Regions from separate parts of the Homo sapiens genome. Here regions 2, 3, 4, 5 and 6 are each linked to region 1. The links are contacts of gene promoters, found by promoter capture Hi-C in human tissues and cell types (Jung and others, 2019). All regions are on one chromosome and are shown on one strand. Each heading gives the region's core, a stretch centred on a gene start or on the middle of the fragment in contact. The rest is flanking DNA. Distances are from core to core; before and after follow the strand shown. Region 1 holds the start of COMMD5 (COMM domain containing 5). Region 2 has its middle 21 kb from the start of C8orf33. Region 3 overlaps ARHGAP39 (Rho GTPase activating protein 39). Region 4 has its middle 6.7 kb from the start of C8orf33. Region 5 has its middle 24 kb from the start of ZNF252P-AS1. Region 6 holds the start of LOC100996662 (a long non-coding RNA gene).

Region 1 (4,783 bases), core at 656-3,155:
CTCGGCAGTCCTCCCCCTGCAGGCTGCTGACCACAAACTTCAGCAACTTTCTGAACGTGCTCCTGTCTAGGTCCCCTAGTAGCCGGGCCATTGCTGCCACCTCTGGAGGAAGCTGGGCCCCCAAGAAACTCACTCGGCCACTGTGACTATCACCAGGATGATGCAGGTATGGAGTTGCAGCCCCCACAGCAGACATTGCTGCTGCTTCCTCTTTGATCAGCCAGCCCAGGAGGTCGGTCCCAGATGCAGATGCCTAGAGTGGGGTGGAGGAGAGAAGACCAGTGACTCTCACATCCTTTGGGCCAGCGAGTGAGGGTTGATATGGTCCCCATCATCAGCATGCTGACAGTGTGAACTACCAATGACAGTCAGTGCTGCGGAGATGGCCCTGGAAGCAGGTGGCAGAGGGGTCCATGTCAGTCCCAGGAGGAGCGGAGGCCTCCCAGAGGAAGTGACATCTAAGGCATGAAGGACAAGCAGGAATTGGCAGAGAAGTAGGGGGCAGGGAGGAGGACCAGGAAACAGCACAAGTTCTCCAAGTAAATTAATAGATGAAAGAATGAACTAGGGGAACGGTCCGGGGAACACAGGGACACTGCAGCTGGCGCCACAGACCACACTGAGACCATTTAACTATTCAATCTTGAATCCTTCACAACAGTGGGCAAGAAGAATTACCATTCTCACCTGACAGAGAGGGAGATAAGGCTCTAGGCCAGGTGCAGTGGCTCAAGCCTGAAATCTCAGCACTTTGTGAAGGTGAGGCCAGCGGATCGCTTGAGCCCAGGAGTTGGAGACCAACCTGGGCATCATAGCAAGACCCCGTTTCTACAAAAAATTTAAAAAACTAGCCAGGCGTGGTGGTGCACGTCTGTAGTCCCAGCTACTCAGAAGGCTGAGAGGACAGAGGATCCCTTGAGCCCAGGAAGTCGTGGCTGCAGTGAGACGAAATCGAGCCGCTGCACTCCAGCCTGGACAACAGAGATGCTGTGAGGAAGGAAGGAAGGAACGAACGAATGGAGGGAGGGGGGAGGGAGGGGAGGCAGGGAAGAAGAAAAGAAAAGTAAAAAGAAATCAAAGCTCTAAACACAGCTGCCAAAGTCAAGGACTGAAGCCTAGACCTGTCTATTCAGAAGTCCCAGCTGTTTCCACCACAGCCCCAACCCCCGGGCTGGAAGAGCTGAGCAACGGCTGGCAACAGAGGCAAGTGCGGCAACTAAAGAGGGTTCCGACGCACCTGAAGGAGCAGTGCAGCAGCACAAGCACCTGCTATGCCAGAGGAAACGCACGTGCCCACCTCAGCACACCAGGTACTGGAGCAGAGCTCAGCGGGGCACAGCTCCTGTCCTCGAGGCACTTGTCAGGCCACTCTGCACAGCGCTGGGGGAGCCCAGGAGCTCCCCACGGGCTTCACGGCGCCCCATTCTCCCTGGGAGTCAACGACCACCCACTGCCAACTCCTTCACCGTCCCGCCAGCACCAGGAGCTCCTTCCCACTCCAAAGAGCCATCCGGGAAGGCCTCCGAGCTGCCCGCTTCCGGTCGCGCGGCTTGGAAGGCCGGGTTCGCACCCTGACTCCGTACCCGCGGCTCTGATGGGGGCGCGGCGTCGCCCGTTCCGGGGCGCGGGGACCTTGGTGCACAGAGTCAAATTGGCACTCGGCCGTCGCCGCCCCCACGGTTCGGGGCCAACCTACCGGCGGGCGCTCCTCCGCGGAAAAGCCCCGCAGTATCCAGAGCTCTCCGAACACAGCGGCGAAGCAGCCTTTCCTAGGCCCACACCCCCAGCTCGGGAGGGAGACTCCATCCTACTCCACCCCACGCTCCCGCTGTCCGAGTCGCCCCCAGCACCTGGCGCCGGCAATCCCCGGCTGATGCAGCCAAAAGCGGGCCTGGTCCCCGGAAGCGCCCTGAGAGCCACTTCCGGGCCGCTCTAGGAAGGCAGCAATGACCGCCCCACTGTGGTCCGCTGGCCCGAGGGGCGGAGCCGAGGCCGCGCCAGGTCCCGCCCCCTCCCCGCCCGGGGGAATCGGGGGTCGCCGGCGGGGTCCCAGACCTCGTCTTAGACAGTTTTTTTTTTTTCTTTCCCCAAAGAAAAAGAAGGCGGTGTTGTGTTTCCGTTTCTGAGGTAGAAACTGCGGCCTGCGCCCGCGTCTCCCTCCCCGCCCGCGCAGAGTGAGGGTAAAGCGGGAGAACGCGTCCCGTGGTCTGGGGTCAGAATTCCAGTCACCTGAGGCTGAGGAGCTCGCTGGCTTTCGTCGGCGTCCGGGTGGGCGGCGGGGAAACCGCGAGACCTTGAGGATCAGCGCGGAGCGGAGCCGAGCGGGCGTCCCTGTCCCGTGTGGACGGTCTGCGCCTCCAGGGTTTTGAGAGCTGCCCCGTTTCCCCTCCTGTCGGGTGGCGTCCGGCGCGCGTGACTCGGTTCCGCTTTGGGCTGCTCTGTTGGGCCCTAGCGCAGGAGCTCGGTCCGAAACAATGGCCGAGCCATTTTATTTAACATGTACTTTACCATAGTTAAAAAATAATATGCCAAAATCATTGAATTGTACAAAATGGGTGAATTATATGGTATGTGAATTATAGCCCAATAAAACTTAAAAAAAAAAAAAAAACTCTGAAAAGGGAAACAACCTAATTAAATGGGCAGAAGATGTGAGTAGACATCAAGGAAGATACAAAGTGGGTAATGGGTACATGAAGCCTTCGGCATTGTTGGCTATTAGAGAAATGCGAATGGAAGCCACGGGGAGGTGCCATTTCATACCATTAGAAGGGTTATAATAAAAATGACAGGTTGGGTGCGGTGGCTCACGCCTGTAATCCCAGCACTTTGGGAGGCGGAGGTGGACAACCAGATCTCAGGAGAACTCTATCATGAGACCATAACTTAAGGGCATGGTACTAAACCATTCATGAAAAGCCACCCCCACGATCCAATCACTTCCCACCAGTCTCCACCTCCAGCATTGGGTATTACCTTTCAGCATGAGGTTTGGGCGGGGACACAGATGCAAACCACATCAGCCATACAATGGAATAGTGTTCAATAATAAATAGGAGTGGAGACTGGGTGCAGTGGCTCATGCCTACAATCCCAGTACTTTATGAGGACTAGGTGGGAGGACCACTTGAGGCTAGGAGTTCAAGACCAGCCTGGGCGACATATCAAGGCTTCATTTTTACAAAATTAAAAAAAAAAACAGGTGTGGTGGTGTGCACCTATAGCAGGGGTCCCCAACCCTCAGGCTGTGGACCGCTACAGGTCAGTGGCCTGTTAGGAACTGACCTCACAGCAGGAGGTGAGGGCAACCTATAGTCCCAGCTATTTGAGAGGCAGAGTGAGGACCACTTCAGTTCAGGAATTTGAGACCAGCCTGGGGAACATGGCAAGACTCCATTTCTAAGACAAAACAAATCAAGTCTAAAAACCATGCTGAGGGAGGATTGTTTAAAGGGAATGGATCTGGGAAGTTTAGAAAGAGACTGCATCTGTAAGGTGTTATTTCTCTTTAAAATATCTGAAGCAAAAAGGTGAAGTGCTATCACTTGTGAGGTCTGGGCGGTGGTTACGTGGCAGACCCACCCCCTCCTGAAGTGAGGAGAGCCAGGAACCTGGGGGTGAGTTTTGGAGACAGTTCCCACCCAAAGGCCAGAGTGCCTGGAGTGCCTGGAGAACTCTCATCTTATTGTAGCAGGATGAGCCACAGACAAAACTTCTCAGACACTGGGTTAAAGAAGGAAGGGGTTTTATTTGGCTGGGAGCTTTGGCAGACTTGTGTCTTAAGAGCTGAGCTCCTCGAAAAAGAAATTACTGGCCCTTTTAAGGGCTTACAACCCTAAAGGGTCCACGTGAAAGGGTTATTATGATAGACTGGGAAAGCATGGAGAACATGACTGGAGGCTACAAGCATCAGCTAACAGAACAGAAAGTTTTACAATGCTTTCTTATACAATGTCTGGAATTTACAGATAACACAAGTAGTTTAGGTTAGGGGTTGATATTATTAACACCAGGGCCAGGTGATGGCACCAAGGTCATCTGGCTATTTATCTTCTGTTTCTTTCTCACTTTTTGTTTTCTCCCATTTCTCCTGTCTTATAAACTAGGCAAGACAGGGGGAGAGGAGGGCAGTAGGAGAAGTGGTGGTCTCCTTCCTTACTATGATCAACATTTGTAAGTTAATTTAGCTTGAAACAATTTCAAGCTTAGATAAAAGGTTGCATGAATAGTGCACCTTCCCAGAGACCCCCATTCAAGGGTCACCAGGTGTCCCTGCAATGTCTCTGAAGGAAAGGAGCCTGTTGCCTGGCAAGAGTGGTGTCATCTCGAAGCAAAATCACTGTGGTGGCCGATGTTAGACTCCTGCATACCAAGGTCTTCACACAAGGCCTGTAGCATTGATAACCCCTCAGAAAGATGCTACCTAACTTCCCCAGCAGTCATGAATTTTGCAAGAAAGTCTAAGACATCACCAGCTGCACATGTTTTTACCAAAAAGCTTGCTATATAAAGGATGCTTTCTGGGGGGCAGGTGCAGGGATCCACTGTCTTGTGGCTGCCCGAGATACTACTTTGTTCATAAGTTTCTAGTAAATGTTTCTTTTGGAGAAACTCCATTTGTCAGCCTCTTTTTTCAGCCTCTCAGCTCCCTTGGCCTTTGGGGGTAGGTTTGTGTGACCTGCTTACTGCGGAGCAATCCCTCAGAGCATCAGGAATCGGCCGAGGGTCACAAGTTGCACCCACTTGTCCTGTTTCTTGTCTCCTTCAGTCTAGAACAGCCTCT
Region 2 (4,783 bases), core at 781-3,280, 220 kb after region 1:
AATGGGTTCTTTTCAGTGTGGTTTAGGCCCCACCAAGTAATTGTCTTTGTTGTGCTGTTGTACAACTTCTGTCCTATACAATTAAGCTTTCCTACAGGGATGATAAATTCTTTTCCTTCTCTAGCTATACAGTATTGTCCAATAATTGAGGTTTTTAGGACCCAGAAGTTGCTAACTTGGGCCTTCTGAACTGGAATTATATTAGGAGCTGGATCAGTAGGCACCAACTCTCAGGCTTCCCAAGGCCATCGGTCTCCGATAGTGGTTTCCCCGCATATATAAGATGTAACATTAAGTGAATGAGCTACATTTCCTGCTAATTGGAGAAACAAATTTTTTGTCTTTTTCGGAAGTTCTGGTGCTGGCAGATTCAGCTCCTCATAAAAGGTTTGAAACACTGGTTTGGGAGAGCGCTTGTGGACTTCCCCTCTAACTAAAATGGCAACTTGGGGGTTTAACCCTGTCCCATCGATCCCCAGGGTTACACATTCTCCCTTTTTCCAAGGAGGATCTAGGGGATTGGTAATTATTAGTTCTAGTGGGTTACAGTGACCGGCAGCACAGGAGGGGTTGGCTTCCCCCTTCTGAAGATGAACAGGGTCCTTTTTGTTCTTTTTCCAAGTAGCCCAAATAACACATGGCCAAAAGGCACAATTTTCACAAACCCCTGACTCATGACAAACATATTTATTTTGTACTCTGTAGCTCCTTTCCCAGTTAAGAGAACCACATCGTGTTCCTAACTTGTTACTATTAATGGCTGCACGAGCATCAAATCTTAAAGTTATTTGTTTGGGGCTTCCTTTTTCTACTGTTCTAGTTATTATTTTACTTGTGTCACCTAGGAAAAGGCCAGTTCTTAATCTTATTTCAAAAACGGTGGTTGCAGGGGGCTCAGATGGGTTATAACACACATCGGGTCGGTCATTTCCTGGGCTACATACCTTGTACTGAGTGGCATTATACAAACAAGTTTCTTTTAATGTTCCCATACATTCATAATAACTATAGAACAGAAAGTTTGTTTTAATTTGCTGTCCTACCTCGGTGACCTGATGAATACTCTGGGAACAGTCCCCAGTTTGAGTAAGGTCAATTGAAGCCCTTACTGTGTAAGTCCAAAATTTAAGAAAAATGAATCCCACGATGAGCTTCCTCATGCTTCGGCCGTGCGTGGACCAGTCAGCTTCCGGGTGTGACTGGAGCAGGGCTTGTCGTCTTCTTCAGGGTCACTCTGCAAGGGTTGTCTGGGCTTGGTCTTGCCTCCCAGGTTTCAGACGGTTTCATGGTGTTCTCTTTGAGCTGGAATTATAGTTGACATTTCATTATAATTTATTAGCTGTTCTAGACTTTATGCATTTATGTGACATTTTCTTTGTTGTACTTTAAGTTCTGGGATACATGGGCAGAGCATGCAGGTTTGTTACATAGGTATACACGTGCCATGGTGTTTGCTGCACCCATCAACCCGTCATCTACATTAGGTATTTCTCCTAATGCTATTCCTCCCCCAGCCTCCCACCCCCCGACAGGCCCCAGTGTGTGATGTTCCCCTCCCTGTGTCCATGTGTTCTCTTTGCTCAACTCCCACTTATAAGTGAGAACATGCAGTGTTTGGTTTTCTTTTCTTCTTTTTCTTTCTTTTTTTTTTTTTGAGACAAAATTTCACTCTTGTTGCCCAGGTTGGAGTGCAATGGCATGATCTTGGGTTACCGCAACCTCTGCCTCCCGGGTTCAAGCGACTCTCCTGCCTCAGCCTCCCAAGTAGCTAGGATTACAGGCATGTGCCAACATGCCTGGCTAATTGTGTGTATTTTTAGTAAAGACGGGGTTTCTCCATGTTGGTCAGGCTGGTCTCAAGCTCCCCACCTCAGATGATCTGCCCACCTCGGCCTCCCAAAGTTCTGAGACTACAGGCATGAGCCACTGCTCCTGGTCTGGTTTTCTTTTCTTGTGTTAGTTTGCTGAGAATGATGGTTTCCAGCTTCATCCATGTCCCTGGAAAGGACATAAATTCGTAGTATTCCATGGTGTATATGCGCCACATTTTCTTTATCCAGTTTATCATTGATGGGAATTTGGGTTGGTTCCAAGTCTTTGCTATTGTGAAGAGTGCTGAAATAAACATACAGTGCATGTGTCTTTATAGTATAATAATTTATAATGCTTTGGGTATATACCCCATAATGGGATTTACACTCCTACCAACTAATTTACACTCCTACCAACAGTGTAAAAGCATTCCTATTTCTCCACAGCCTCGTCAGCATCTGTTGTTTCCTGACTTTTTAATAATGGCCATTCTAACTGGTGTGAGATGGTATCTCATTGTGGTTTTGATTTGCATTTATCTAATGACCAGTGATGATGAGCTTTTTTCAATATGTTTTTTGGCCACATAAATGTCTTCTTTTGAGAAGCATCTGTTCTTTTCCTTTGGCCACTTTTTGATGGGGTTGTTTTTTTCTTGTAAATTTGTTTAAGTTCTTTGTAGATTCTGGATATTAGCCCTTTGTCAGACAGATTGCAAAAATTTTCTCCCAGTCTGTAGGTTGTCTGTTCACTCTGATGAGTTTATTTTGCTGTCCAGAAGCTCTTTAGTTTAATTAGATCCCATTTGTCAATTTTGGCTTCTGTTGCCGTTGCTTTTGGTGTTTTAGTCATAAAGTCTTTGCCCATGCCTATGTCCTGAATGGTATTGCCAAGGTTTCTTCCAGGGTTTTTATGGTTTTAGGTCTTATGTTTAAGTCTTTATTCCATCTTGAGTTATTTTTTTTGTATAAGGTGTAAGGAAGATGTCCAGTTTCAGTTTTCTGCATATGGCTAGCCAGTTTTCCCAACATGATTTATTAAATAAGGAATCCTTTCCCATTGCTTGTGTTTGTCAGGTTTGTCAAAGATCAGATGGTTGTATGTGTATGGTCTTATTTCAGAGTTCTGTATTCTGTTTCATTGGTCTATGTGTCTGTTTTTGTACCAGTACCATGCTGTTTTGGTTACTGTAGCCTTATAGTATAGTTTGAAGTTGGGTAGTGTGATGCCTCCAGCTTTGTTCTTTTTGCTTAGAATTGTCTTGGCTATTTGGGCTCTTTTTTGCTTCATGAGAATTGTAAAATAGTTTCTTCTAATTCTGTGAAGAATGTCATTGGTAGTTTAATGGGAATAGCATTGAATTCTTCTATAAATTACTTTGGGCAGTACGGCCATTTTCATGAATTAATTCTTCCCTATCCATGAGCATGGAATGCTTCTCCATTTATTTGTGTCCTATCTGATTTCTCTGGGCAGTGGTTTGTAGTCCTCCTTGAAGAGGTTCTTCACTTCGCTTGTTAGCTGTATTCCTATGTATTTTATTCTCTTTGTAGCAATTGTGAATGAAGTTCATTCATGATTTGGCTCTCTACTTGCCTGTTGTTGATGTATAGGAATACTAGCGATTTTTGCACATTGATTTTGTATCCTGAGATTCTGTTGATGTGATTCATCAGCTTAAGAAGCTTTTGGGCTGAGATTCCAGTACTATGTTGAATAGGAGTGGTGAGAGAGGCCATCCTTGTCTTGTGCCTGTTTTCAAGGGGAATGCTTCCAGCTTTTGCTCATTCAGTATGATATTGGCTGTGGGTTTGTCATATATGGCTCTTATTATTTTGAGGTGTGATCCTTCAATAGCTAGTTTATTGAGAGTTTTTGACATGAAGCGATGTTGAATTTTATTGAAGGCCTTTTCTGCATCTGTTGAGATAATCGTGTTGTTTTTGTGTTTAGTTCTGTGTATGTGAGGAATTACATTTATAGATTTGCCTGTGTTGAACCAACCTTGTATCCCAGGGATGAAGCCATCTTGATCGTGGTGGGTCAAGGTACCCTTATCAGTGTTAGGTTCAGTCTTTTTACATAATCCCATATGTCTTGAAGGTTTTGTTCATTCTTTTTTGGTCTTTTTTCTCTATTCTTCTCTGTTCTTTTTTCTCTATTCTCTCTTCCTGTCTTAGACAGATGGTTTTGAAGCTCTGAGATTCTTTCCTCCACTTGGCCTATTCTGCTAGTGATACTTGTGGTTGCATTGTGAAGTTCTCGTGTTGTGTTTCTCAGGTCTATCGGGTCAGTTATGTTCCTCTCTAAACTGAATATTCTGGTTATCAGCTTCTCTAATTTCTTTTATGATTTTTAGCTTCCTTGCATTAAGTTAGAATGTGCTTCTTTAGCTCAGTGAGGTTTGTTATTACCCACCTCCTAAAGCCTACTTTTGTCAATTCAGCCATCTCAGCCTTGGGTCGGTTCTGTGCCCTTGCTGGGGAGGTGTTGTCATTTAGATGAGAAGAGGCATTCTGCCTTTTTGAGTTTTCAGCATTTTTGTGTTGATGCTTTCTCATCTTTGTGGGCTTATCTACCTTTGATCTTTGACATTGCTGACCTTTGGCAGAGCAGGAGTGCTGTACTGATCTCCGGGATTCTCCAGAGCCAGCAGGCTGGGAAGGCTGAGTCGGCTGAACTGGGGAGACAGCAGCTACCCCTCTCCTTGGGGACTTCATCCCAGGGAGAAATCAGAGTTCTGTCCATAGAACTCTGGCTGGAGTTGCTAAAATTCCGATGGGGAGGCCCTGTCCAGTGAGGAGGGATGGATTTTGGTCTCACTTAAAGAAGCAGCCTGGCCACGATCAGGCTCAGCAGCTGTGCTGTGTTATGGGGAATTCCTCCTGGTCCCTAGTGCCAGCAGGCTAGAGCAGCCAACTCAAACCACAGATAGAGCGGCTGCCCTCCCCCGGGAACTCGGTCCATCTCC
Region 3 (4,783 bases), core at 912-3,411, 190 kb before region 1:
GTGATTCTCCTGCCTCAGCCTCCCAAGTAGCTGGAATTACAGGTGTCCACCACCACACCCGGCTAATTTTTTTTTTTTTTTGAGACAGAGCTTTGCTCTTGTTGCCCTGGCTGCAGTGCAATGGTGCGATCTTGGCTCACCACAACCTCCACCTCCTGGGTTCAAGCAATTCTCCTGCCTCAGCCTCCCAAGTAGCTGGGATTACAGGCATGTGCCACCATGCCCAGCTAATTTTGTATTTTTTAGTAGAGATGGGATTTCTCCATGTTGGTCAGGCTGGTCTCTAGCTCCTGACCTCAGGTGATCTGCTCGCCTCGGCCTCCCAAAGTGCTGGGATTATAGGTGTGAGCTACTGCGCCTGGCCACTACAGCATTTTTTAATCAGGGACCTGATCATCCTTGAATTTTGGTATCCACAGGGTGTCCTAAAACCATTCCCCATGGACACTGAGGGATGACTGTGTATCATAACAAACAGCGAAAGACTGACTGCTTTCCCCTCACTACTCTAACATGACACATTACCGGAGGTCCTAGCCAGTGCAATAAGGCAGGAAAAAGAAAAGGTAGAAGGATTAGGAAAGAAGAAATAAAACTATATTCATAGACAAAATGATTATATATGTAAAAAAATTAAAACATTAAATATTAATGTTTAATATTGGGGTAAATATTAAATTTAACCAATATTAGAAATAAGTTTGGCAAAATACATGCACTGAGTAGTACAAAGTACTGATGAAAGACATTTAAGAGGACCTGAATCATGGGGAGGTGTACCAGGTTCATGGATGTGGCAGCCCAACAGGGTTAGGGTGTAATAGCCCCATTGTCTTTCTGTCCAATCCTATTCTGTTCACTCACTCCACAGGTGCTAATCCCAAAAGCATTCCTCAGTAAACTTCCTAAAGACAAATCAACTCAGAGTCCACTTCCCAGGGAACTCGACACAAACAGCAATTAATAATATACACTGTAAAGGACATAATTACTGTAATCAAAATGACAGGCAGCTAGATAACCAGCAACATGCTGACCAGAGCCATTAGCCTACCACCAGCCTAACCACACATTCACACCCTGAAGGCTTGGAGGAAACACCTGGTAACTCCCAACACGTGCTGGGAAGCTGCTCATTTGAAGAATGCTTCTTAACACAATTAGATATGATCAAACGATGTTGCCTTTTTCAATCGTTTTTGACCTACAAAAAACTAAAGTTTCACGTGTTCAACTTTCTGTTTCCATTGAGTCCTGTCTTAACCATGACAAAACGTCTCTGAGGCCAATGAGTGCCCACTTTTCAATCACACCAGCCCTCTGATCTAAGAGTGGAGAGACAAGTGTTATTTCTAAGTCAATGTTCCAAGTTCAAGCTTAATTGGAGGACATTTTCTAGACTATTTCATGGGACCTAAACAAAGCAATCAGAGAATCCCAAACAATTTTTTGCAAAATCTTCCGGCCTTGGCTTATTCGCTGGTTCTGATGCTCTGCCACCCCTTCACAGCTCACTGACACATGCTCTCTGCAGAGCTAAGCTAACAATTGCTTCTCTCATCCCCATTCTCTGGCTGTCTTGAGGGGTCCACTTATTCAAGCCCCACTCTAACTGTGGGACGCCCCAAGATGCATTTCCCTCTACATGCTACCCTTTGAACTCCTCATTCTGTTCCCCCAGTCTCCGTTATAATCCCTCTGTAGCTAAGTCCCAATTCTCTACCCAACCACCTCTCTCCCAAATGCCAGGTTCACCTCAGTTTACAAATGCCAGATGGACATTCCTTGGGTGGTGTTCCCTCACCTGAATCACAATGCTCCTCCTCCCCAGATCACTCTTCCCAACCACCACATGCACTTGCATTGTGCATCTCTTTCTGTCCACAGCACATGCCACTCTGCCCCCGACCCCTGGGTCAAAGGTGTGGAATGCTCCCGTGTCTCCTCCTCCTGGACCCTAGGTCTCCACCACTGTCCATCCCATCCAGGGCACCTTGGCGTCAGCTCTGCAGCACCTATTCCCACAAGCCTGAATGGTCTCTCACAAATTCAAGACTGAATTCCCTCTTGCTGGCCTCTGGTTAAATAATATAAGATTATTCATGCTTTCAGCCTTTCCTCCCCTAACCCCATCTCACCCCTACTACCATATTAAAGAATCTCCAAAAAAGCCAGCCAAGGTCACATCACTTTCATCGTGATAAGCATTCACTGGTGCCTCTAAAATAAAGGGACAATCCTTGCATGAGCACATTCCTTGGAACTGCACTGTGCAACACACTAGTCACTTGTCACTATGCTTAAAGTAAAGTTGAGTAATATTTAATACTCAGTCTTGCAAGCCATGATTCCGTGCTCAGCAGCCACACATAGGACAGCAGGCTCTAGAAAACACTTCTCTCAGGATCTTGGCCCAGACTGACTTCCTACTTCTGCTCTGTTCCAATAAAAACCATCTCTAAATAAATAAATGAATAATTTTTTAAAAGGCTGGGTGGGTGGCTCACCCCTATAATCCCAGCACTTTGGGAGGCCGAGGCAGGCAGATCACTTGAGGTCAGGAGTTTGAGACCAGTCTGGCCAACATGGTGAAATCCTGTCTCTACTAAAAATACAAAAAAAACTTAGCTGAGAGTGGTGGTGTCCATCTGTAGTCCCAGCTACTCGGGACGCTGAGGCAGGAGAATTGCTTGAACCTGGGAGGTGGAGGTTTGCAGTGAGCTGAGATTGTGCCATCGCACTCCAGCCTGGGTGACAGAATGAGACTCCATCTCAAAAAAAAAATAGGCATGGTGGCACACGACTCTGTAGTCCCAGCTGCTCAGGAGACTGAGGCAGGAGGATCACCTGTGCCCAGGAGATGGAGGCTGCAGTCCAGTCTGGCTGCAGACGGCCCTCTCAGCACCGCCGTGAAAACACATGCAGTCCTACACAGGGTCCCAGCAGCTTCACCCACTCCGGGACCACCATGGCCCCTTCACACACAGGCAGTGTGGAGCAGAGGAGGCCATTCCACTCTACACACAGGAGGAGGCCATTCCACTCTACACACACAAGGCTCCCAAAGCTCTGTGAGCAACATCTCAGCCTCTCCCCGGCTCCTCTTTGCGCATTCGCGCGTGACACTCCTGCAGAGGTGGGCTCCACACACCAGCCACCTGGCCTCGGTCTCTTTCCTTCTAACAGGAACAGCACCCTCACTCCTGTGATAGTCTCAACTCTCTTGGGCCCATGCTTACCTGGCAAACACCTGTGGTTAACCCAGCACTCCCCATCCACACCTGCCGCTAAACACATTCAGAGGAAAACAGCCTCTAACCAGCCTTCCCCTTTCTCCCCTCCCAATCCTCACACCAGCCCAAGGCCTGAGGCCATCTGGCCACCAGGCTGGTCTCGAACTCCTGCCCTCAACTGATCTGCCCGCCTCAGCCTCCCACAATACTGAGACTATAGGTGGGAGCCACCATACAAATGAATGAATGAACGAGACGGGGTTTGCTGTGTTGCCCAGGCTGGAGTGCAGTGGTGTGATCACAGCTCACTGCAGCCTTGGGCCACTACCCGCCTCTCCATTATCCACCTTGGACCCCTCCTGTGTCTCTATTATCCACCTTGAACTGTTCCCTCCTCCCCATTATCCACCTCGAACTGCTCCCTCTCCCCACTATTCACCTTGGACAACCCCCCACCCCGCCCCCCTTTCCGCATCTCCATTATCCACCTTGGACAGCTTCCTCTTCCCCGTTATCCACTTTGGACTGCTCACCCTCCCCATTATCCACCTTGGGCCTCTTCCCTCATCCCCATTATCCACCTTGGACCGTTCCCCACATCCCATTATCTGCCTTGGACCACTCCCCACTCCCCATTATCTGCCTTGGCTTGCTCCCCTTCCCCATTATCCAACTTGGACCGCTCACCTTCCCCATTTTCCACCCTGGGTCACTTTCTCTCCCCATTATCCACCTTGGATCACTCCACCCTCCCCATTATCCGCCTTGGACCGCTCCCCCGTCAGCATTATCCACCTTGAACCCCTCCTTCCTCCCCATTATCCACCTTGGACCATTCCCCGACTCCCCGTTTATCCACCTTGGACCACTCCCCCTCCCTACTATCCGCCTTAGAGCGATTCCCCTCTCCCCGTTATCCACCTTGGACCACGTTCCACTCCCCATTATTATCCAGCTTGGACAGCTCTCCCCTCCCCATCATCCACCTTGGGCCGCTACCCGCCTCCCCATTATCCACCTTGGGTCACTCCTCCCCTCCCCATTATCCACCTTGGACTGCTCCCCGTCAGCATTATCCACCTTGAACCCCTCCTTCCTCCACATTATCCACCTTGGACCGCTCCCCCTCCCACTTATCCACCTTGGACCACTCTCCCTCCCGATTATCCACCTTGGGCCGCTCCCCACTCCCCATTATCCACCTTGGATCACTCCTCCTCCCCATTATCCGCTTTGGACTGCTCCCCACTCCCTATTATCCACCTTGGGCCATTACCCGCCTCCCCATTATCCACCTTGGCCAGCTCCCTCCTCCCCATTATCCACCTTGGACTGTTTCCCCCTCCCCCTTATCCACCTTGGGCCACTCCCCCCATCCCCATTAGCCACCTTAAACCGCTCACCACTCCCCATTATCCACCTTGAACCACTCCCCACTCCCCATTATCCACCTCGGGCCTATCCCCCACCCCCATTATCCACCTTGGACTGCTCCCCACACCCCATTACTCACCTTGGGTCACTCCCTTCTCCCCATTATTCACCTTGGA
Region 4 (4,783 bases), core at 714-3,213, 190 kb after region 1:
AAAACTAAAATATTTTATTTACCTTTATTGATTTTGCCTCTAATGCTCTTCCTTTCTTTATGTAGATACTAGTTTCTGATTTATCATTTCCCCCTCTCTGAAGAAGTTATTTTAATAGTTCTTGCAAGGTTAGATCTACGGGCAATAAATTCCCTCAATTTTTGTCTGAGAGAGTTTTTATTTCTCCTTCATTTTTGAAAGATAATGCCACTTTATACAGAATCGGGGCTGGTGTTACTTTTAACATTTTTTGGAAGATAAAACTGATATAATGCTTACCCTTGCTTAGTTTTTTTCTTTCTTGCCTTTTTTTTTGAATGGAGTTTTTCTCTTGTTGGCCAGGCTGGAGTGCAATGGTGCAGTCTCGGGTCACTGCAACCTCTGCCTCCCAGGCTCAAGCAATTCTCCTGCCTCAGGCCTCCCAAGTAGCTGGGAATACAGGCATGCATCACGACACCCGGCTAATTTTTGTATTTTTAGTAGAGACGGGTTTTCACCATGTTGGTCAGGCTGGTCTGGAACTCCTGACCTCAGGTGATCCACCCGCCTTGGCATCCCAAAGCACTGGGATTGCGGGCATGAGCAACCGTGTCTGGCCCTCCGGCTTCTTTGAAGATTTTTTTTGTTCTTCATTTTCTGCAGTTTGAATATGGTATGTTTGTGTATAGAATTTTGGTATTTATCTTGCTGGTGTTGTCTGTACTTTCTGGAACTGTGGTTTGGTGCATGTTATTAATTTTGCAAAATTTTATTACAATTGGCTCAAATATTTCTTCTGTTCCTTTCCTTCATTCTTCTTCTGGTATTCCCAATATGCATATGTTACACCTTTTGCAGTTGTCCCACAGTTCTTGGATGTTCTGTTTCATCCTTTTTATTCTTTTTTTCTCTTAGCATTTCTATTTTGAAAGTTTCTACTGACATGTCTTCAGGATCATTGATTCTTTCTTCAGTTGTGTCCAGTCCTTTTGTTGTTGTTGTTTTGAGATGGAGTCTTGTTCTGTTGCCCAGGCTGGCTCACTGTAACCTCTGCCTCCTGGGTTCAAATGATTCTCCTACCTCAGACTCCCGAGTAGCTGGGACTACAGGTGTGTGCCACCATGCCCGGCTAATTTTTGAATTTTTAGTAGAGATGGTGTTTCACCATTTTGGCCAGACTGGTCTCAAACTCCTGACCTCAAGTGATCCACCCACCTTGGTTTCCCAAAGTGCTGGGATTACAGGTGGCAGTCTTTATTTCTGTCATGATGTTTTTGATTTCTAGCATTTTCTTTTGATTCTTTCTTAGTGTTTCCATTTCTCTGCTTATATTACCTATCTGTTCTTGCATATTGTTCTCACTTTCCATTAAAACCCTTTGCATATTAATCATAGTCTTAAAAATTCAAGGTCTGATATTTCCAACATCTCTGCCATAAGCTCAGTTTGGTTCTTATGCTTGCTTTTTCTTTTCAAATTCTATATTTTTTGTGTGTCTAGAACGTGTGGTAACATTTTATTGAAAGTGAGATACGATGCACTGGTTAAAAGGAACTGATAGTTAGGCCTTTAGTGTGAGGTTTTTATCTGGCCCGCGGTTAGGCTGCGTTTTCTGTTTGCTGCAGCTGTCAGTATCAGAGGCTAAAATGTCTCCAGCGTCCTTGTTTTGGTCTCCCTTGTTGCCTTTGGGTTATCCTAGAGACTTCTTGAAGTTTGAGACACACAGTTCTTTCAGTTATATTCTCCCCTAACTATTCAGGATCTCTAGTGCTGGGGTAAGATATGAAGGGAGGGGAAACATCACATAATCTTATGAGTATGTCTCAGTCTTTCAGTGAAATTGTGACCCTCACAAGTGCTTCTGAGTTTTGTATTGGTTTATCCCCCTTAGATGAGACAGAAAGGCTAGAGCAGGTTGGAGTTGGGTATTTCCCTTTCCCCAGGTCAGTTTGTCTCTGGTAAAACCTCAGCAGGTTAGGCTCTGGTAAAATAGTTTCTCCTGAGGTTGGGCTTTATGAAGAACCATACGCTCTGGGCATATTTCAGAATGGCTAATTTCCCCCTCCCACTGCTGGAAGCATGAAGGGATTTTTTTTCTTAGATCTTCACTGTGAGAACCTGTTATGGCTTCAGGAGGTAAAGCTCATGAAAGTGTGTGGGTTCCGTTAAAACTGGGCCATACTGGCATTTTTACTGTCAGTGTGCGTGAGCACTCAGCAGGCACTAGGCTCAGTGACGGGGTCAGTTCTGTGCCTTAGCTTCCTCCTGTGTGTTCTTTCCCTAAGCAGTCCCATGGGGCTGAGACACAGCATCCATAACCCTGATGAAGTGTCATCATTGACCATCTACAAACACTGGGCCCTGAATGGAGCTTAGTTAAACTGCCTTCATCTACTACCTAGCTGTACCAGGGACCACTATTTAAGAGACATGAAAAGAAATCCAGAATCCCCAAGTGTCTGTATTGCCTGGGGGTGATCATGGACTGTTATTGACCTCTTGGTGTTTGGAAGGCTGCTTTTAGATACTCCTGAATCTGTTTGCCACATAACTACATGTATTACATATTTCATTTGATTACTTTCTTAGTTATGGTTTTCTTTTCTTCTTTTTGGAGATGGAGTTTTGCTCTTGTTGCCCAGGCTGGAGTACAATGGTGCAATCTCAGCTTACTGCAACCTCCACCTCCCGGGCTCAAGTGATTCTCCTGCCTCAGCCTCCCAAGTGGTGGGGATTACAGGCATGTGCCACCACACCTGGCTAATTTTGTATTTTTTGTAGAGACAGAGTTTCACCATGTTGGCCAGGCTGGTCTCGATCTCCTGACCTCAGGTGATCCACCTGCCTCGGCCTCCCAAAGTGCTGAGATTACACGTGTGAGCCACCACGCCTGGCTAGTTATGGTTTTCTATGCTTTTTTCTTGATTGTTTCAGATTCTGAGACCCAGCTAACTACAAACATGGAAGTTTTTAAATAAATAGAGCCACTTGAGGCCCAACACTGTGGCTTACACTTGTAATCCCAGCACTTTGGGAGGCCGAGGCAGGCTGATCATGAGGTCAGGAGATCGAGACCATCCTGGCTAACACGGTGAAACCCTGTCTCTACTAAAAATACAAAAAAAGTAGCCAGGCGTGGCAGTGTGCGCCTGTAGTCCCAGCTGCTGGGGAGGCTGAGGCAGGAGAATGGCATGAACTCAGGAGGCGGAGCTTGCAGTGAGCCAAAATCGCACCACTGCACTCCAGTCTGGGTGACAGAGCAAGACTCCATCTCAAAAAAAAAAAAAAAAAAAAAAAAAAAAAAGAAAGAGAGCCACTTGAGGTGGGAGGTGGATATTGGAAAGATTTATATGTAACATTCTGCAGGAAGCCAAGCTTGAAGAAACTTATAAAAATTAGGGAGACTGGGGGCCAGGTGTGGTGGCTCACGCCTGTAATCCCAGCACTTTGGGAGGCTGAGGCAGGTGGATCATGAGGTCAGGAGTTCGAGACCAGCCTGGACAATATGGTGAAACCCTGTCTCTACTAAAAATGCAAAAAGTAGCTGGGCACAGTGGCAGGCGCCTGTAATTCCAGCTACTCAGGAGGCTGAGGCAGGAGAATTGCTTGGACCCAGGAGGTGGAGGGTGCAGTGAGCCAAGATTGCCCCACAGCACTCTAGCCTGGGCAACAGAGCAAGACTCTATCTCAAAAAAAAAAAAAAAAGAAATTAGAGAGACTGAGAAAATCATTACAAACATCTTGCAGATGACAGATCAAATATTTTCCTTTCTTTACAAGAGAGAGATTTCCAGGCAGTGATACTGATCCATCCAAACACTCATGCAATGGAGAGAGGTCTTAAATGTAACAAATACAGGAGCTGCATGAGTCTGTGCTCAAATGCTATTATATATACTAGTGTTCCTACAGAAGAGGTGTCAGAAATGACAGGTGTGTGACCAAAATTTCAAATTAAATTCAGACTTAACGAGACATCAGAAAAGCCTCATGAGAGAGAAACCCTGTGAATGTATGTGGAAAAGCTGTTATGCAGAAATTACTCCTTATTGAACATCAGAGTATTTATCTGATAAGAAACTCTGTCAATGTAATGAACGAGAGAAAGCCTTCAGCTAGAGCTCAGTTGTAATTCACCATTAAAAAGTTCTAGGGTCGGGCGTGGTGGCTCATGCCTGTAATTCCAGCACTTTGGGAGGCCAAGGTGGGTGGAACATCTGAGGGCAGGAGTTTGAGACCAGCCTGGCCAGCATGGTGAAACTCTGTCTCTACTAAAAATACAAAAATCGGCCAGGGTTGGTGGTGGGTGCCTGTAATCCCAGCTACTCAGGAGGCTGAGGCAGCAGAATCACTTGACCTCAGAGGGAGGAGGCTGCAGTGAGCTGAGATTGTGCCACTGCACTCCATCCTGTGCTACAGAGTAATACTGTGTCAAAAAATAAATAAATAAAAGTTCTTACTGGAGAGAAACCTTATGAATATTATGAATGTGGGAAAGCTTTTATCCAGAAATGTATTAAGTACCAAAGATTTAATATCTCATGAATACAGAAAGTATGAGAAAACCTTTGCACAGAGCTCACACCTAATTCAGCATCAAAAAATTCAGTGGAAAGAAGTCATAAGTATGTAATTACTGTGGAAGAGCTTTCCATTCAAAATCACACCTTATTCAGCAGCAGATAATTCACAGTAGAGAAAAGGCCCGTGAATGCAATCAATGTGGAAAGCCTTCAATTGGAGCTCAGCACTTGCTAAAAATCAGATAATTAACACTGGAGTGAAACCTAATGGATGTAATGAA
Region 5 (4,783 bases), core at 897-3,396, 170 kb after region 1:
CCCAAGTTTTACTTTTGTTGTCTTTCCACCAAATCAGTTTTCCCTCATGTGGGCTGTTCTTTTTACCAGTAAAATGTTGTTCTGCAGAAGTAGTGGTCTGATTTCTATAAATGTTTAAAAAATTTAAAGTATAGGGTGCTAGATTAAGTTCATCTGGGAAGTGTTATACTCCTTACTGTCTTTTTCCCTTTTTTGTTTAACCAATTGAGCTTTGAGTGTTCTATTAGTTCTTTCAATTATGGCCTGTCCTTGGGAATTATAAGGGATTCCTGTTGTATGTGTAATTTTCCACTGATTTAAGAATTTTTGAAATGCTTTACTACAGTATCCTGGCCCATTATCTGTTTTAATTTTTTCTGGAACTCCCATGACAGCAAAATAAGATAATAAATGTATTTTAACATGGGAAGTACTTTCTCCTGTCTGGCAGGTTGCCCATATGAAATGTGAATAAGTATCAACTGTCACGCGGACAAATGACAATTTTCCAAATGAAGGTACATGTGTGACATCCATTTGCCATAATGCATTAGGACATAAATCTCTGAGATTAACTCCTGCCTCCTGAGTGGGCAGGTGTAAGACTTGACACTGAGCACAATGTTGTACAATATTTTTTGCCTGTTTCCATGTGATATCAAATTTATTTTTTAATCCTGTTGCATTTACATGAGTCAGGACATGAAGTTCTTGTGCTTCCATCAAGGCAGATGATACTAGCAAGTCAGCTTGTTCATTTTCCTTAGTTAATTGCCCTGGTAAATTAGTATGTGCTCGAATATGAGTAATATAAACTGGGAAATTTCTTTTTCTTACAGTTTGTTGTAACAATTTAAACAGATGATTTAACTGATAATCCATACTATATTTGATTAGAGCTTTGTAGCCTTTGTAGCCTGTACTATATATGCAGAATCTGAAACAATGTTAATAGGCTGATTAAAATCTTGTAACACTGAAGTGACAGCAACCAATTCTGCTCTTTGAGCTGAGTGATATTGAGTTTCAATGACTCATTCTTTTGGCCCAGTGTAAGCCACTTTTCCATTGCTGAAACCATCAGTAAACACTGTCAGAGCATTTTCTAAAGGTTTTTGTCTGGTAATTTTAGGTAAAATCCAAGTAGTCAATTTTAAAAACTGGAAGATTTTTGTTTCTGGGTAATGATTATCAATAATTCCCACAAAATCAGCTAGACCAATCTGCCATGCAGCAGAATTGATAAAGGCTTGTCTAACCTGTTCCTTGTTTAAAGGAACAATGATTTTATCTGGGTCACTTCCACACAATTTTACTATTCGTAGTCTTGTCTGACCAATTAATGTAGCCATTTGATCTAAGTACAATGTAAAAGTCTTAACTGTACTGTGAGGAAGGAATGACCACTCCACAAGATCTGTATTTTGAACAATAATGCCTGTTGGAGAATGTGCAGTAGCAAAAATCAAAAATTGGAGTGGGGCTAAGTGATCTATTCTATTTACTTGTGCTGAATTAATTTTTTCTTCAACTAATTCAATTTCTTTAGTTGCCTCTGGAGTTATTGTTCTTTTACCATTCAAGTCTGGATCCCCTCTCAAGATAGAAAACAAATTTGACATGGCATAAGTAGGAATGCCTAGAGTTGGCCCAATCCAATTAATATCTCCTAGCAATTTTTGAAAGTCATTTAATGTTCTTAATGTGTCTTTTCTTATTTCTATTTTTTGTGGTTTAATTTTTCTTTCCTCTACCTGCATTCCCAAATAATTAAAAGGAGTGGAGGTCTGAATCTTATCAGATGCTATTGTCAGGCCTGTGTTTGCAACCTCTGTCTGCAGAAACATGTAAAAGTCAATTAATTTGTCTCTTGTTTCTGCAGCACACAAAATATCATCAACATAATGAATGATATAACAGTCTGAAAACTGTCTCTAACTGGTTCCTGGGTCCTGAATCTTTTCCCAGGCCCTGAGGCAAATAGCCCCTAGTTGTTCAATAGCCTCATTTTGCATTACTGATTGTTGGTTAATAGTGCTCCAATTTGGACGTGTTCCTAGCAATTGGTCTGCATCTATATTAACAACAGGATAAGTAGCCTGATTTTTCCGTACCTGTTCTTGTACTCCATCAATCCACCAGGTTTTAAACTGTAGATACTGAGAGGGTGAAAGGGAAGATTTAGGTAAAATTTCCCAATCATAAGGAATAAGTCTATTTCCATGAGCAATGGAATCTAATAACGTTCTCATATAAGGAGAGTTGGGTCCATATTGTTTAGCTCCTTCCTTTATGTCTTTTAACATTTTCATGGTGAAATATTCTTACCTAGCCTCCGTTCGGACAGACGCTCCTGCTTGACTCCCTTTCCTGGCCCTTTCCCGGCCGGTATCGGTTGTAACATTACCGGATACTGCCATGCCTCAAGATCTCCCTGTTTTCTGGCTGTATCAACGGTCTCATGCAGTGCACTATCTTGTCCACTAGCTGGTACTGTAGGATCAAACACCATCGCCGTGGGTTGTTGATATAGTGCCCTACTATTTGGCACAGGATCCCATCTGGGATCTATACTGCACCTCTGGAGATGGCCGATACTGAAATTCGGCTGGCGGCCAGTGTTGATAAACTACCAGTGGTTGGGTTTTATTTTCAACCAGCTGATATTGTAGATACTGTGTCTGTATTGGCATTTGAGGTTGTAATGTCACAGGCATCTGAACCACAGGAGAAGGAGTTGGTGGCCATCGTGGTCTAAACTCTGATGGCCCGAATAATTCTGGACCTCCTTCCCCCAATTTTGATGATTCAGGATATATTACCTCCTGTAATTGATTATAGTCAACATTTTGCATTGACTGAGCCATTACAGACTCTACTACATTTTTATAATGTGAACTTTCCATTCCTTTCTTGAACTCTGTTCCTGTCTCTTCTTCACAATCTATTACACAGCTTTCAGGGGCATCAGAAACTGAAACGCTATCTTCTCCTGTTTGAAATGGTTCTAAAGTTGCTTTAATAATGGCCCAATCATTCCATACTGTAAGTGGGATGATTTTACCTTCCCTACTTGCTTGTTTTAATTATTTGCCAATTTTTTCCCAATCTTTTAAATCTAAAGTTCCCTGTTCTGGAAACCATGGGCAGAATTGTTCTGTTGTTTGAAACAGTGTAATTAGATTTTCCGTAGAAGCTTTAACTCCCCCTCTTCTTAAGAGAATTTTAATGAAGCTGAGATAAGAGGCATATTTACTTTCAGTTTGCCCCATTGTTACCCTGGATTCCTCTGAGTGCACAAGGTTACCGGAAGGCTGACCGTGGACGTACTCGGGAATCTCTCGTCGGCTGTCCTCGATGCTCACATTCTTAGCATAGCTTCACCCTAGAGAAAGGCACCCACGTTGGGTGGCAGATGAAGGGGTGGCCTGCCCCTCCACACCTGTGAGTATTTCTAGTTGGGTGGGATGAGAGACTGAGAAAAGAAATAAGACAGAGAGACAAAGTATAGAGAAACAACAGTGGGCCCAGGAGAGCGGCACTCAGCACACCAAGGACCTGCACCAGCACCGGTCTCTGAGTTCCCTCAGTTTTTATTGATTATTATTTTCATGATTTCAGCAGAAAGGAATGTAGTAGGAGAGCAGGGTGATAATAAGGAGAAGGTCAGCAAAAAACATGTGAATAAAAGAATCTATGTCATAATTAAGTTCAAGGGAAGGTACTATGCCTGGATGGGCACGTAGGCCAGATTTATGTTTCTCTCCACCCAAACATCTCAGTGGAGTAAAGAATAACAAGGCAGCATTGCTGCCAACATGTCTCGCCTCCCACCATAGGGCAGTTTTTCTCCTATCTCAGAATTGAACAAATGTACAATCGGGTTTTATACCAAGACCTTCAGTTCCCAGGGGCAGGTAGGAGATGGTGGCCTTCCTCTATCTCAACTGCAAGAGGCTTTCCTCTTTTACCAATCCACCTCAGCACAGACCCTTTATGGGTGTCAGGCTGGGGGATGGTCAGGTCTTTCTCATCCCATGAGGTCATATTTCAGACTATCATATGGGGAGAAACCTTGGACAATACCCAGCTTTCAAGAACAGAGGTCCCTGCGGCTTTCCGCAGTGGATTATGCCCCTGGTTTGTTGACTCTAGAGAATGGCGATGACTTTTACCAAGTATACTGCTTGTAAACATTTTGTTAACAAGGCACGTCCTGCACAGCCCTAGGTCCCTTAAACCTTGATTTCATACAACACATGTTTTTGTGAGCTCCAGGTTGGGTCAAAGTGGCTGGGGCAAAACTACAAATTAACAACATCTGAGCAAAGCAATTGTTCAAAGTACAGGTCTTTTTCAAAATGGAGTCTCTTATGTCTTCCCTTTCTACATAGACACAGTAACAGTCTGATCTCTCTTTTCTCTACCACAATCATTATCCAAAAAAGAAGATTTTTCAGTTTTTAAAGCTAACAACATGGGTCCTTCCAAAAATTACCAATAGTGCTCCATTGGAAGGAGGAGTCACTGTGTTTACAGATGGCTCTAGCAATGGAAAAGCAGCTTATATAGGACCTAAAAACAAAATTATTCAAACTGACTTTCAATGGGCACAAAGGGCTAAATTACAGACAGTTATAGCTGTGTTAGAAGACTTTAAGCAACCTGTAAATATTGTCTCTGATTCACCTTATGTTGTTCAAGCCATTCAATACATAGAAACTGCACTCATTAAATATCTTGTGGGTGAACAACTCTATCAGCTGTTTTCTTCTTTACAAAAGACAGTGCATGATCGCTGTTT
Region 6 (4,783 bases), core at 1,657-4,156, 150 kb before region 1:
TAGGAAAGCGGGCTTCTCACAAGAATAAAATCCATCAAGGTCCTCTGTCTCCACTGGAGCCCCCAGTCACAGCGCCTTCCTCCGGGCTAGAACCTGTCGGGGGCCCCCAGCCTGTCCAGGGCCGCTGTCTTCCAGGAAAGAGAGAGCTGTGCCCAGAGAGGAGACAGAACTCTTTCTCCGTGAATCGCATCCTTTTCTGTGCGGGATGATTTACATTCTGGGAACAAACGGGGCCGTATCTCACAGTGCTGCAGGATGCCAGTGGTGCAAACAGTCGGCGACCCGGCCATTTCCCGAGGGTCTCAGGCGTCCCACCCAACGGCCGCTCCCCGTTCCCTGTCCGTCACCTCCTCGTTCTCCTACGAAGGCGCGAACGTTCCAGACTCTCGCCGGTCCTCGACAGCACTCATTCAGTCTCCCCCCTGGAGATCCCAGGCTGTACTCTGGGACAGAAAAGAAGGCGGGTACGACCGCGGTGTCGGGTCCTACCTTAGCCGCTCCTTCTCCTGAGGGAGCCAGGCGGGAGAGAGGGGAACCACCGAGGCCTCGGTCTTCCCGCGTCCCAGAGCGGCCGGGCGAGTCTCACTTCCGGCCTGTGACCCGCTGACCTGTCCTTGTCCCACCAGTCGGGCGGTGAATTGGACTGACTGGTGACCCCTGGCACCAGGCTTCCCCATGGGCACCGGAGCAGGCGGACAGGGGTGGGGTCCCGCGAGCGACACGGAAGGGTCAGTGTGGCGGAGCGGACCCTGTGGAGGCGGGGTCACTGTGCTCCTGAGAAGGGTCCTCGGGGGTGGAGTCTATCAAGGTTGCGGGGGCGTGGTCACGGAGCGGAGCCAATAAAAGCGGGGCGTGCACGGCCGCGGGCCAGTGCCTATGAAGGGCGAGGGGTGTGGTCACAGGGCGGGATCTACGAAGGATGCAGGGGCGAGGCCGGGTCTCTGCAGGATGTGCGGTCGCGGGTCGGAGTCTATAAAGGCAAGGGGCGGGGTCCCTGGGTTGGGTGAGGGGTGTGGTCATGGGGGGCAGGTCTGTGTAGGGTGAGGAGCTTGTTCCCCGAATGAGGGTCTGTGAAGGGTGAGGGGCATGTTCCTGGGGTGGGGGTGTTTGTGAAGGATGAGGAGAGTTTTTCCGGCATGAGGGGCTGTGAAGGGTGAGAGCCATGTTGCCGGTGGTGCGGGTCTGTGAAGGGTGAGGGGAGTGTTCCTGGAGCAGGATATGTGAAGGGTGAATGACGTGGTTTCGGGGTGAGGTTAGTGCAGGATGAAGGGAGTTGTCTAGGAGCTGTGTCCTCTAAGGTGAGGGGCGTGGTCTCTGGGCGGGGTCCGCCATTTTGTCTGGTGAAAGTTGGGAAGGGACAAGCGAGACTCCCACCTCTGGCCTCATCCTCAGCCCTGCGTTTTCCCCACTTGTACTGCCAGAAAGCTGAGTGGTGGCAATCACTTTTGGAGTCTTCCTGAGACAATCCACCAATATGAAGTAAACTCGAGGAAGTGAGAGGAAATCATTCGTTCATTCATTGATTCCACTCAAGGATCACCCAGGGCTCCTCTCTCAGCTCTTCTTCTCACGTCCAATGCCCTACAAGATATCTAGAAGCTGCCCTGCTGTCCCTGCACGGCTCTTGGGCCGGAAGCGTGCTGGGGGTGGTGGGGGCCAGGGAATAGCATAAAGAGGGAAATGTGGAGCAGAGCCTGGCTCTGTCTGTGCAGGACTCTCCTCTCAAGCATGAATGGCCATGGGATGGTGATGACAGGTGGTACCTCTGACTTAGCAAACGTGGAGCACTGAGATAGGAAAGGGCCACTGGACCCCAACCTGTGCCCTGGACCACAGGTTTCCTCCCGTGTCCTCTCCTGCCTCCAGACTGCCCTCTGCAAGAAGCCAGAGTGATGTCTTCCATTGCTGCTTGTTAGAAATAAATGCTCATTCCCTGGTGTCGCAAGGAAGAGGCAGCATTTAGACAAAAAGTACTCTCAGCAAGGCAACTTTACTTTCTGCAGAAATGGTACTGCTTGCCAGCAGTCTTGCCAAGAGAGTACACCGAACAAAGGGAGACAGGAATATGTATCCCTAACGCATGAGGTCCCTACTGCTGTGTCCTATCTCCGTTGGCTGAGTTGGACCTCACATTCTAGGCTGAACTTAATTGGTTAACAATTTAAAACTTTCTAAATAGGTAAAGACAATGAGGAACAAAGGAAAAGAGGAAGTTGCTTACGAAAGGACTTTAGAACAGTAATAACATTTCTGAATAAGGAAGGGGCATAGGCTGCAAGCTGGGACATGTCTGGGCACGTCCAGCACGAATATTTCGGTTAAGGTACAAGGACACAGAATGTACTACATGTCTGTGAAAATGTCTAACACAAATACTGAAGTCAGAGTATACAGGCATACGGTATGCTTATTCTGTTACATTTGCTATATAAGGCATAACAGAGTTATCACTATAAAATAACAAGCTTGAATAGAACTAGCTCTGAGAGAAAATACCAATAACATTTCTGATTTAAAGAAGAAACTTTGAAGAGGAACTTTTTACTTTCCACACTGCTCTTAATTTTGAGAATGTTCAAATCCACAGAAAAGTATTATGAACACCATAAACTCTTCATTTAGATTCTATAGTTGTTGACATTTTGCCACACTGGCTGTATCTTTGAATATATTTACTTTTTGCTGCTGAAAAGTAATTTGAAAATACCGTTGACCCTTGAATAATAAAGGGGTTGGGGCAGTGACCCCTGTGCAGTTGAAAATCAAAGCATAACTTTTAACTCCCCTAAAATTTAACTACTAATAGCCTACTGTTGACTGGAAGCCTTACGCATAACATAGTCAATTAACACATTTTTTATGTTATATGTATTATATACTCTATTCTTTAGATAAGCTAGAGAAAAGAAAATGGTGTTCAGAAAATCATAAGGAAGACATAATATATTTAATATTCATTAAGTGAAAGTGGATCATCATAAAAGTCTTCATCCTCATTGTCTTCACATTGAGTAGTCTGAGGAAGAGGAGGAAGAGGAGGATTGGTCTTGCAATCTCAGGGGTGACTGAGTTGGAAGAAAATCCAATTATAACTGACCCTTGCAGTTCAAACCTGTGTTGTTTCAGGGTCAGCTGTAATTTGTAGACATCATGACACTTTCCCTTAGGTACCTCAGCCTATTTCCTAGAGATGAGGACATTTTCTTACATGATAGCAATACTTTATTTCACCTGAGAAAATTAACAATTATCCCGTGGTCCCCGGGCACGGTGGCTCATGCCTGTAATCTTAGCACTTTGGGAGGCTGAGGTGGGTGGATCACGAGGTCAAGAGATCGAGACCATCCTGGCCAACATGGTGAAACCCCATCTCTACTAAAAATACAAAAATTAGCTGGGTGTGTTGGCATGCACCTGTAGTCCCAGCTACTTGGGAGGCTGAGGCAGGAAAATCACTTGAACTCAGGAGGCAGAGGTGGTGGTGAGCCAAGATCGTGCCACTGCACTCCAGCCTGGCGACAGAGTGAGACTCCGTCTCAAAAAAACAAACAAAAGCAAAAATCCTGTGGTCACATAACTTATTTCTCCAATTGTCTCTAAAATGTCTGCATAGCTGGGTTTTTCCCCTCTAATTCAGAAGCTAATCAAGATTGCATGTTGCATTTAATTGTGTCTCTTCAGGCTGTTTTTTTTTTTTTTTTTTTTGAGACAGAGTCTCGCTCTGTCGCCCAGGCTGGAGTGCAGTGGCGTGATCTCGGCTCACCGCAAGCTCCTTCTCCTGGGTTCAAGCCATTCTCCTGCCTCAGCCTCCCGAGTAGCTGGGACTACAGGCGCCTGCCACCATGCCCAGCTAATTTTTTGTATTTTTAGTAGAGACGGGGTTTCACCGTGTTAGCCAGGACGCTCGATCTCCTGACCTCGTGATCTGCCTGCCTTGGCCTCCCCAAGTGCTGGGATTACAGGCGTGAGCCCGGCCTTTTTTTTTTTTTTTTTTTTTTTTTTTTGGAAACAAGGTCTCACTCTGTCCCCAAGGCTGGAGTGCAGTGGCGCCATCATGGCTCATTGCATCCTCATCCTCCCAGGCTTAGGTGATCCTCCCACCTCAGCCTCCCGAGTAGCTGGAACTACAGGAATGTGCCACCACGCCTGGCTAATTTTTTGTATTTTTTTATAGAGACCAAGTCTTACCATGTTACCCAGGCTAGTCTCAAACTCCTGGACTCAAAGGATCTGCCTGCCTTGGCCTCCCAAAGTGCTAGGATTACAGGCCTAAGCCACCGCACCTCGCTGGCTGTTTTAATCTGGAATAGCTTCCCTGCTTTTTGTTTCTCTTTAGGACACTGACTTGTGACCATGTGTGGCCATCTATCTGTGTTATACCCCATGTTCTAGGTGTAACATGGAGCCCACACAGATTAACACTCCCTGCCCTTCATGCCCCAGTGGGTGGAGTCGTGGTCTCTGCTGTCCATGAGGCAGAGGTGGTTGAGGTGACATGCAGCCAATTATGGCTTGCCCCCAACCCCCTGGGCCCAGCTGCTGGGGAGAGACCCCTGCTGACCACCTTTCCAGGGTCCAGCTCAGGCCGTGCCCCTCCACCTGCAACCATGATGCCATGGTGGCTTCTTTTGTGGTGGCCTCTTTCGAGGGGGTGCAGGGAGGCTGCAGAGCTGAGGCCTCAAGATGGACAGGGCTGTGGGCCAGAGGCCTGGTGAGGAAGCCAGTTTACAAACCCCAGTCAGAGCGGGCTGAGCCAGGGGCCGGCAGAGACTGAGAGACCAAG

The links. The method cuts DNA at HindIII sites, captures the fragments that hold promoters and counts their contacts. A contact is called where the count stands out against the background at its distance.
Region 2: a contact is called between a fragment that was not itself captured here and the fragment with the promoter of COMMD5 in region 1, in 9 of the 25 tissues and cell types used here (IMR-90 fibroblasts, adrenal gland, bladder and 6 more).
Region 3: a contact is called between a fragment that was not itself captured here and the fragment with the promoter of COMMD5 in region 1, in 5 of the 25 tissues and cell types used here (IMR-90 fibroblasts, heart right ventricle, lymphoblastoid cells and 2 more).
Region 4: a fragment that was not itself captured here is called in contact with the fragment with the promoter of COMMD5 in region 1 in 5 of the 25 tissues and cell types used here (dorsolateral prefrontal cortex, heart left ventricle, mesenchymal stem cells and 2 more).
Region 5: a fragment that was not itself captured here is called in contact with the fragment with the promoter of COMMD5 in region 1 in 5 of the 25 tissues and cell types used here (H1 embryonic stem cells, bladder, lymphoblastoid cells and 2 more).
Region 6: a fragment that was not itself captured here is called in contact with the fragment with the promoter of COMMD5 in region 1 in 2 of the 25 tissues and cell types used here (lymphoblastoid cells and mesendoderm cells).

Annotation. Positions count from the first base shown.
Region 1 is chr8:144,851,143-144,855,925 of GRCh38, forward strand. COMMD5 (COMM domain containing 5) reads right to left here and starts at 1,906. Exons shown (of 2, transcript NM_014066.4): 1 at 1,697-1,906; 2 at 1-253. The coding sequence starts at 196. RefSeq lists enhancers at 1,121-1,969, 1,547-1,876, 2,427-2,526 and a silencer at 1,947-2,136. The HindIII fragment of the contact is 6,847 bases long and covers 1-4,783 here.
Region 2 is chr8:145,070,751-145,075,533 of GRCh38, forward strand. No RefSeq gene overlaps it. Among named protein-coding and RNA genes, the nearest start is that of C8orf33, 21 kb to the left of the region's middle. The HindIII fragment of the contact is 6,005 bases long and covers 1-4,783 here.
Region 3 is chr8:144,658,211-144,662,993 of GRCh38, forward strand. The region is part of intron 1 of ARHGAP39 (Rho GTPase activating protein 39); the gene reads right to left. Among named protein-coding and RNA genes, the nearest start is that of ARHGAP39, 25 kb to the right of the region's middle. The HindIII fragment of the contact is 7,618 bases long and covers 1-4,783 here.
Region 4 is chr8:145,043,423-145,048,205 of GRCh38, forward strand. It overlaps the pseudogene LOC100419763. Among named protein-coding and RNA genes, the nearest start is that of C8orf33, 6.7 kb to the right of the region's middle. The HindIII fragment of the contact is 3,904 bases long and covers 12-3,915 here.
Region 5 is chr8:145,024,429-145,029,211 of GRCh38, forward strand. It overlaps the pseudogene LOC124902043. Among named protein-coding and RNA genes, the nearest start is that of ZNF252P-AS1, 24 kb to the left of the region's middle. The HindIII fragment of the contact is 6,073 bases long and covers 1-4,783 here.
Region 6 is chr8:144,699,751-144,704,533 of GRCh38, forward strand. LOC100996662 (a long non-coding RNA gene) reads left to right here and starts at 641. Exons shown (of 3, transcript XR_001746144.3): 1 at 641-728. It also overlaps a transcript of ARHGAP39 not described here. RefSeq lists an enhancer at 1,684-2,883. The HindIII fragment of the contact is 4,670 bases long and covers 572-4,783 here.